Regions from separate parts of the Homo sapiens genome. Here region 1 is linked to region 2. The links are contacts of gene promoters, found by promoter capture Hi-C in human tissues and cell types (Jung and others, 2019). All regions are on one chromosome and are shown on one strand. The core of a region is centred on a gene start or on the middle of the fragment in contact, and the rest is flanking DNA. Distances in the headings are between cores, read along the strand shown.

The links. The method cuts DNA at HindIII sites, captures the fragments that hold promoters and counts their contacts. A contact is called where the count stands out against the background at its distance.
Region 1: a fragment that was not itself captured here is called in contact with the fragment with the promoter of ACSBG2 in region 2 in 2 of the 25 tissues and cell types used here (lymphoblastoid cells and pancreas).

The regions. Positions count from the first base shown.
Region 1 is chr19:5,966,709-5,970,412 of GRCh38, forward strand. The region is part of intron 1 of RANBP3 (RAN binding protein 3); the gene reads right to left. Among named protein-coding and RNA genes, the nearest start is that of RANBP3, 9.6 kb to the right of the region's middle. RefSeq lists an enhancer at 1,270-1,564. The HindIII fragment of the contact is 6,212 bases long and covers 1-3,704 here.
Region 2 is chr19:6,133,930-6,137,518 of GRCh38, forward strand. ACSBG2 (acyl-CoA synthetase bubblegum family member 2) reads left to right here and starts at 1,738. Exons shown (of 15, transcript NM_030924.5): 1 at 1,738-1,980. All of the region lies in intron 3 of LOC105372255 (a long non-coding RNA gene), which reads right to left. RefSeq lists enhancers at 702-1,605, 1,606-2,508. The HindIII fragment of the contact is 13,898 bases long and covers 1-3,346 here.

The DNA.
Region 1 (3,704 bases), core at 576-3,075, 170 kb before region 2:
CATATAAGAGAGAATCTGGAATATCTTTGCTTTTTCTGTTTATTCGCCTCCTGACTGATGACTCCAATACCTGCCAAGAAAATGCCCTCATCTAGAAAGCAATTGAGAACTCCTGACCAAACTGTCAGCAAGGTACTTGCATAAAATTAGCTTTAATCCTGGGCTGATATGTCTTAATCTTCTTACCTGTGAAAAAAATATGGAAAGCATCTCGCCAACACAAATAACAGTCTATTAAAATGTGGCAACTCCTGTAATCTGGTGACACGATCACAACCCTTCAAGTCATTTATTTTTTCAGAAATTATTATAAACAGTTCTGTGCCACAGCACAAAGGTAAATCTGTCACTGACGTGTCAGGTCTGTCCTCCAACTGATTCTTTGGTACGGAATGGAACTGATCTCAAACATGCAGTTGCTAGGTGATGCCTCTGCGGATCTCCGTGTATAGCATGCTCGGGTTCTCCAGCCCAGCTAGTGGAAGGCGGTGGGACCCTGGATGACTCCGTTCTTTTCTCAATACTCGAATATATTTCTATAACTTTCAACTGGTCTCATGGAGATTATGGGGACACACTTTTTGGAGCTGATGATATCCTACATTTTATGTACTTCTTTCTGGAATGCTCATCATCTTGGCATTACCTTCAACTACCGAACTCCAAGCCAACTTCCAACCACTCTCATCTCACCACCAGATACTTACACTTCCAACAAGCATTGCAGGGGCAACAGGCATTTGTTAAAAGGCCTTTACTGGACTCCGAGGTAGGTACTTTACATATCTAGTCTCATTCATCATAGACGCATCCCCATGACATCCTCCTCATATCCCACTCCACCCCATGAGGGCCAAGCCACATTCTGCCTTCTTTATTTCTACCTTTATCAGCCCTGCAGCCAAACCCTTCTAAGCTTCCACTCCTGCGCCACCCAGACCGTAAGCCCCGGGGGGCAGAACTTGCACTTCTGAACAGAAACCCCATAAAGTTATACAAAGTCAGCAACTCTGCCTACAACTGTATGGATGGCTGGGTTCAGTGGCTCATGCCTGTAATCCCAGCACGTTGGGAGGCCGAGGCATGTGGATCACTTGAGGAAAGGAGTTTGAGACCAGCCTGGGCAACATGGTGAAATCGTGTCTCTACCCAAAATACAAAAATTAGCTGGGCCTGGTGGGATATGTAATCCCAGCTACTCGGGAGGCTGAGACCCAAGCATCACTTGAACCCAGGAGGTGGAGGTTGCAGTGAGCTGAGATAGCACCACTGCACTCCAGCCTGGGCGACAGAGTGAGACTCTGTCTCCAAAAAAAAAGAAAAGAAAGAAAAAAGAAAAAACTGCGTGGAGAGATGGAGGATCCAGCTTTAACGGCACTTTTCTGTTCCGCCACTAGGTGGTGTGACACCAACACAGCTGAGGCAACATGCAAGTGGCTGAAGACTCGGGAAAGTTCCAGTAGAGACAACAGGAATCCCCTCCTCTCTACACGGAAGCTTACAGGAAGGAAATCCAAGAACTACAGAATTTATGCTGAGGCAGCAGAGCAAAACTGATGATACTGGAGAGCGCGGGCTCTGGTCTTTGTGTGTGTTCAAACCTGCCCTGGCCACTTACTTGCGGTTGGGATCCCAGATAAGACAATGTACCTCTGGCACAATGTCTTCATTTGCATATCAGGGCTGTTATTTCACCCCAGGCAGCTTCGGCAAGGATGAAATGAAATGCTGCACATGCCGTGTTTGGGGAAGTGGTTGGCACACAGGATGATTCCACACTGGCACTGGTAGCATTATTATGCTCGGAAGATTGCAAACATATTGATGCCACCTTAAAGCATAGGCCTTGGATTCAAGGACAGCTGCCAGTGCCCGGCAACGACAAATGCGTCAGAGTCTGACCCCTTTTAGGGGGTGGAATGGTTGGATCCAAGAGCTGCCTGGACGCCTGGGACACTCAAGGCAAACGCTCAGGTGCTCGGAATGCCTGAGCCCTTCTGAGGTCACAGGAAACAGGTGGGATCTGAAGGCAGGCCGAGCCGAGCAGCCAAGCCTTGCTCTCACCAGCAGGATCTACCAAGCACAGACTTGTGCTAGGCACCGAGCTTGCCACTGGAGACAGGAAAGAAATGGCAGACAAGGCCGCAGCTCTCTACTGGGAAAGAGAAAACAAACAAGTACCTGCTGTGTGCAGAGATAACTGGGTAGTTCTGGAGCTGGGTGCTGCAGAGAAAATACCACAGGATGGTGGGAGAGAGTGAGTGAATGGGTAAGGCCTCGCTGAAGCTCACACATGAAGGGTGAGCAGGGATGAGCCAGGTGAAGGCAGGGGATCCCAGGCAGAGGGGACCCCAAGTCAAAGGTTCTAAGGAAAGGAAGAGCCTGGAGGCCCATGTTTGGAGGGGAGGAGAACGGGAAGGGCTGGGTGGAGCCCACAGGACGTTCAGCCTTGCAGGCCATGCTGACAAATCTGGATTTATCCAGTGTAAAGGTTGGGGCCCAGGCTCTGGACTCTTAGGACCCAGTGGCCATCACCATCAATGCTGCAAAACATCCTCTCTCCTCTGAGCAGAGGGTAACTGCCTGTTTTCTCACCCTCTCCCCCAGAGAAAGGCAAGTTCTCAAGGACCGTTTCCACTCACGCTCTGCTCTCACAGATGCAACGCAGGAATTAATTCTGGGTAAATAAGTTCCCAAAATTCTCTGTGGCAAACCTGGGGGAGTTTAATTTAGCAAAGGCATTTTAAACTTACTGCAAAAGGCAAGGCCTGCCTTCTAAACATGTGTATGGAGTAACTACTACTGTCTCTAGAATTTCCTCCCTTTCTTTGAACACCATAAACAGCGACAGCGAAATGCAGTGCCCTACGCGGGTCAGTTTTCAGGGGTGAACGAGTGCCCATTACCTAGAGTTTACTGACTCACCGGGAAGGACAAGCATGAACTCCTAGACTCCATGGCTGGAGACAGGCGCACTGGCCCTAGCCAGCCCTACCTGCTTCCATGGCCTCGGGCTTCAGCCCCTGTGAAATGGTGCAGCCAGGACTCAGGCATCCCTGAAGGTTCTTCCCAGCCCTTACATTCTGTCAGGTCCTCACCCTGGACCAGAGGCAGTGTTAAAGGTCAAGGAAAAGACTGTTCTTCCTGAAGAGGGATATGATGTCCATTGAGGCCTACTCAGCTGCCAAAAGGCCAGAATAGAAAAATAAGGTTGGGAGGAAGGGCCTTAAACTCTAGCTGGCAATTAATTTATTCCTGGGTAGGTTCCTTTGATCCTATGACCAGTGGTTCTCACCCAGGAGTAACTTCATCTCCCTGGAGACACTGGTCAAAATCTGGAGACATTGTGACTGTCATGTTTGTGGGGGTGTGGAGGAAACTGTTACAGACATCTAGTGGATGGAGACCAGGGATGCTGACCAACATCCTAGGAGGCTCAGAACAGTGCCCTACCAGCAAGTGACCCAAGTCCAAATGTCAACTGAGCTGAGGGCAAGAAACCTTGCATTAATCTTGGGCAAAAAAATTGAGCTGGATCTCTAACTCACATTATACACCAAAATAAATCCCCAATAGATTAGATGGCACAAACCAGGGTGACCCCCCACCCTGGCTTCTGGGATTCACCGCCTCTCTCCCTCCCCACTCAGACTGTGGCTTTAAATGTGTACAGGCTCCTACGACCTCAGTAGGTTAGATAACTA
Region 2 (3,589 bases), core at 488-2,987:
CAGGATGTAGTCACATGGACACGCCATGCAGTCAGGGGGCCTGGGAAACATTCTCTCTCTTTAGGTGAGAGCTCTGGGGAAGAAGGGCTGAATGGACATTGGTGGACACTGGCTGTCCTGGCACAGCTGCCCAGGTGCTCTGCAGAGTAGATATTTGTGAAACATTAAGAAGGCCCTGGTGGCCAGGTGCGGTGGCTACACCTGTAATCCCAGCACCATGGAAGGTTGAGGCGGGTGGATCACCTGAGGCCACGAGGTGGAGACCAGCCTGGCCAACATGGTGAAAACCCATCTCTACTAAAAATACAGAAAATTAGTCGGGAGTGGTGGTGCATGCCTGTAACCTCAGCTACTTGGGAGGCTGAGGCAGGAGAATCGCTTGAACCCGGGAGGCAGAGGTTGCAGTGAGCCAAGATCACGCTATTGCACTCCAGTCTGGGCAACAAGAGCCAAACTCCGTCTCTCTCTCTCTCTCACACACACACACAAAAGGCCCTGGAGACAAAGGAACACTCCTTGTCCTTTTCTCCTGGCACAGCACAAGATTCTGTTGCTACATCTTTATTTACTGAGCATCTAGTATGTGCTGCACCTGGCACTGTTTTGTCTTTTTTGTTTTGAGACAAGGTCTTGCTCTGTAGGCCTGGCTGGAGTGCCATGGTACCATCACAGCTCACTGCAGCCTGGAACTCCTGGGCTCAAACAATCCCCCCACCTCAGCCTCCCTACTAGCTGTGGTTACACTTGCGCACCACCACGCCCGGCTAATTTTTTAAATTTTTCTGTAGAGACGGGGTCTTACTACATTGCCCAGGCTGGTTTTGAACTCCTGGCCTCAAGTGATGCTACGGACTTGGCCTCCCAAAGTGCTGGGATTCCAGGCACAAGCCACTGTGCCTGGTAGTGGACATTGTTAGCAGTGACTAAAGCAGAGAACGAGAAGGGGGAGGCCGCTGTAAACACATGAAGACAGGCAGCGTAAGAGAAAGTCACGAGGGCAGGAATAACATCCAGGCATACTTCAGATCCCAGCTCAAGAAACCACTCCCAGGCCAGGCGCGGTGGCTCACGCCTGTCATCTCAGCACTTTGGGAGGCCAAGGCGGGCGGATCACAAGGTCAGGAGTTTGAGACCAGCCTGGCCAACATGGCGAAACCCCGTCTGTACTAAAAATACAAAAGATTAGCCGGGCGTGGTGGCGGGCGCCTGTAATCCCAGCTACTCGGGAGGCTGAGGCAGGAGAATCGCTTGAACCTGGGAGGCAGACGTTGCAGTGAACTGAGATCGCACCATTGCACTCCAGCCTGGGTGACAGAGCAAGACTCCCGTCTCAAAAAACGAAAGAAAAGAAAGAAACCACTCCCAGACTCCCTGCCTGGGCGGGATCCTTTGATCAAGCCCTCAACATGCCTTGGGGCTCTCTTCACAATGGTAAGTTTGCATTTGTTTGTGTGATTCTAGGCCTCCTCTTATTTTCTTGAACAGGCCTCATCTGGCTTTGTTCATCTTTATGTCTCCAGCATCCAGCACAATCCCTGCCATTAGGGTCATGGCTTCATAAAAACGTCACGAATGCAACGCAGAAGTGCATGCATGCATGAATAAATGAATGATGCATGAAAAGAGCAATCTCCCTGTCCTGGAAGCAGCTTCCCCTAGGGGTGGGGGTGGGGTGCGGAGGCAGGGGCAGCCAGTGATGTCACAAGAGGTGGCTGGGATGGAACGTTCTGGAAGGTTGAATGGGGTAGAAGGCCTGTTGTGGAGGGAAACCACCCATCCTCCTGCCTCCCACCACCACCATCATCCTGGCTGGACGGAGAGGGTGACGGGGGCTGGGAAGGGGCAGCTCATGTTCAGGTTTCCAGGAGGGGCTACCTGTTGACTGTCTTTGCAGGAAGAAGAAAACACCTGAGTGACCAGATGTCCCAGCTCCAGGTGCCTTGCCAGATGGCCAGAACCACACCTCTTGAAGAGTGACAGGTGCCAGTGGTATGGGAGAAGGGCATGCGTTTTCTTTTCTTTTTTTTTTGAGACAGGGTCTCACTCTTTTGCCCAGGCTATAGTGCAGTGGCACGATCTCAGCTCACTGCAACCTCTGCCTCCCAGGCTCAAGTGATACTCCCACCTCAACCTCCCAAGTAGCTGAGATTACAGGCGCCTGCCACCATGTCCAGCTAATTTTTTTTTTTTTTTTGAGACAGAGTCTTGCTCTGTTGCCCAGGCGCAATCTCGGCTCACTGCAAGCTTCGCCTCCCAGGTTCACACCATTCTCCTGCCTCAGCCTCCTGAGTAGCTGGGACTACAGGTGCCTGCCACCATGCCCGGCTAATTTTTTGTATTTTTTAGTAGAGATGGGGTTTCACCACATTAGCCAGGATAGTCTCAATCTCCTGACCTCGTGATCCACCCGCCTTGGCCTCCCAAAGTGCTGGGATTACAGGCGTGAGCCGCCATACTCGGCCTAATTTTTATATTTTTAGTAGAGATGGGGTTTCGCCATACCAGCCAGGCTGGTCTTGAACTTCTGACCTCAGGTGATCCACCCGCCTCGACCTCTCAAAGTGCTGGGATTATAGGCACGCGCCACCATGCCCAGCTAATTTTTGTATTTTTAGTAGAGATGGGGTTTCACCATGCCAGCCAGGCTGGTCTCGAACTCCTGGCCTCAAGCGATCCACCCGACTCAGCCTCCCAAAGTGCTGGGATTACAGGTGTGAGTCACCACATCTGAACCCTACATGGCCTTTTAAAATTGTGAAACATATAATGCATATAAAATAACACAAAGCATATCTGTACGATTTAATGAATAACGATAAATATCTGTGTGCCCTTTTCACTTCGTGAAATCGAATATTACTAGTAACTTACAAGTCCTCTGTAGAGAACTCCTGAGCTCAAGTGATCCACCTGCCACGGCCTCCCAAAGTGCTGGGATCACAGGTGTGAGCCTCCGCACCCGGCCGATCGTGTGATTTTTAACGTGCAGTTCCCTGATGACCAAAGCTACTGAGCATCTTGTCCAGGATTTGTAGCCCTTTCCAGGCTCCTTTTTTGTGAACTGCCTGTTTACATTTTTCATCATAAAACACTGGGTTGTTTACATTTGTCTTTTAAATCCAGAGTTCTTTTCATACTCCGGATACTAATTTTATTTGCCCATTTTGCATTGCCATAAAGTAATACCTGAAGATGGGCAATTTATAAAGAAAAGAGGGGCCTGGTGTGGTGGCTCACACCTGCAAATCCCAGCACTTTGGGAGGCCGAGGTGGCGGGGTTGGGGGGGGGGGGGGGGCTTGCTTGAGGCCAGGAGTTCAAGACCGGCCTGGGCAATATAGCGAGGCCCCCAGCTCTACAAAAATAAAAATAAAAATAAATTAGCCAGGCGTAGTGGCATGCTTCTGTAGTCCCAGCTATCTGAGGGGAAGAGAGTTCCAGGCAGAGGGCACAGCCCGTACGAAGGCCCCAAGGAAGGACTGCACCTGGTGAGTTGGAAGAACAGTGAGGAGGCCCACGTGGCTGCAGCAGAGTGAGGAGGGGGAGGGAGGAAGGAGGAGAGCACAGGGAGGTGCAGGGCCTTGTGGACCG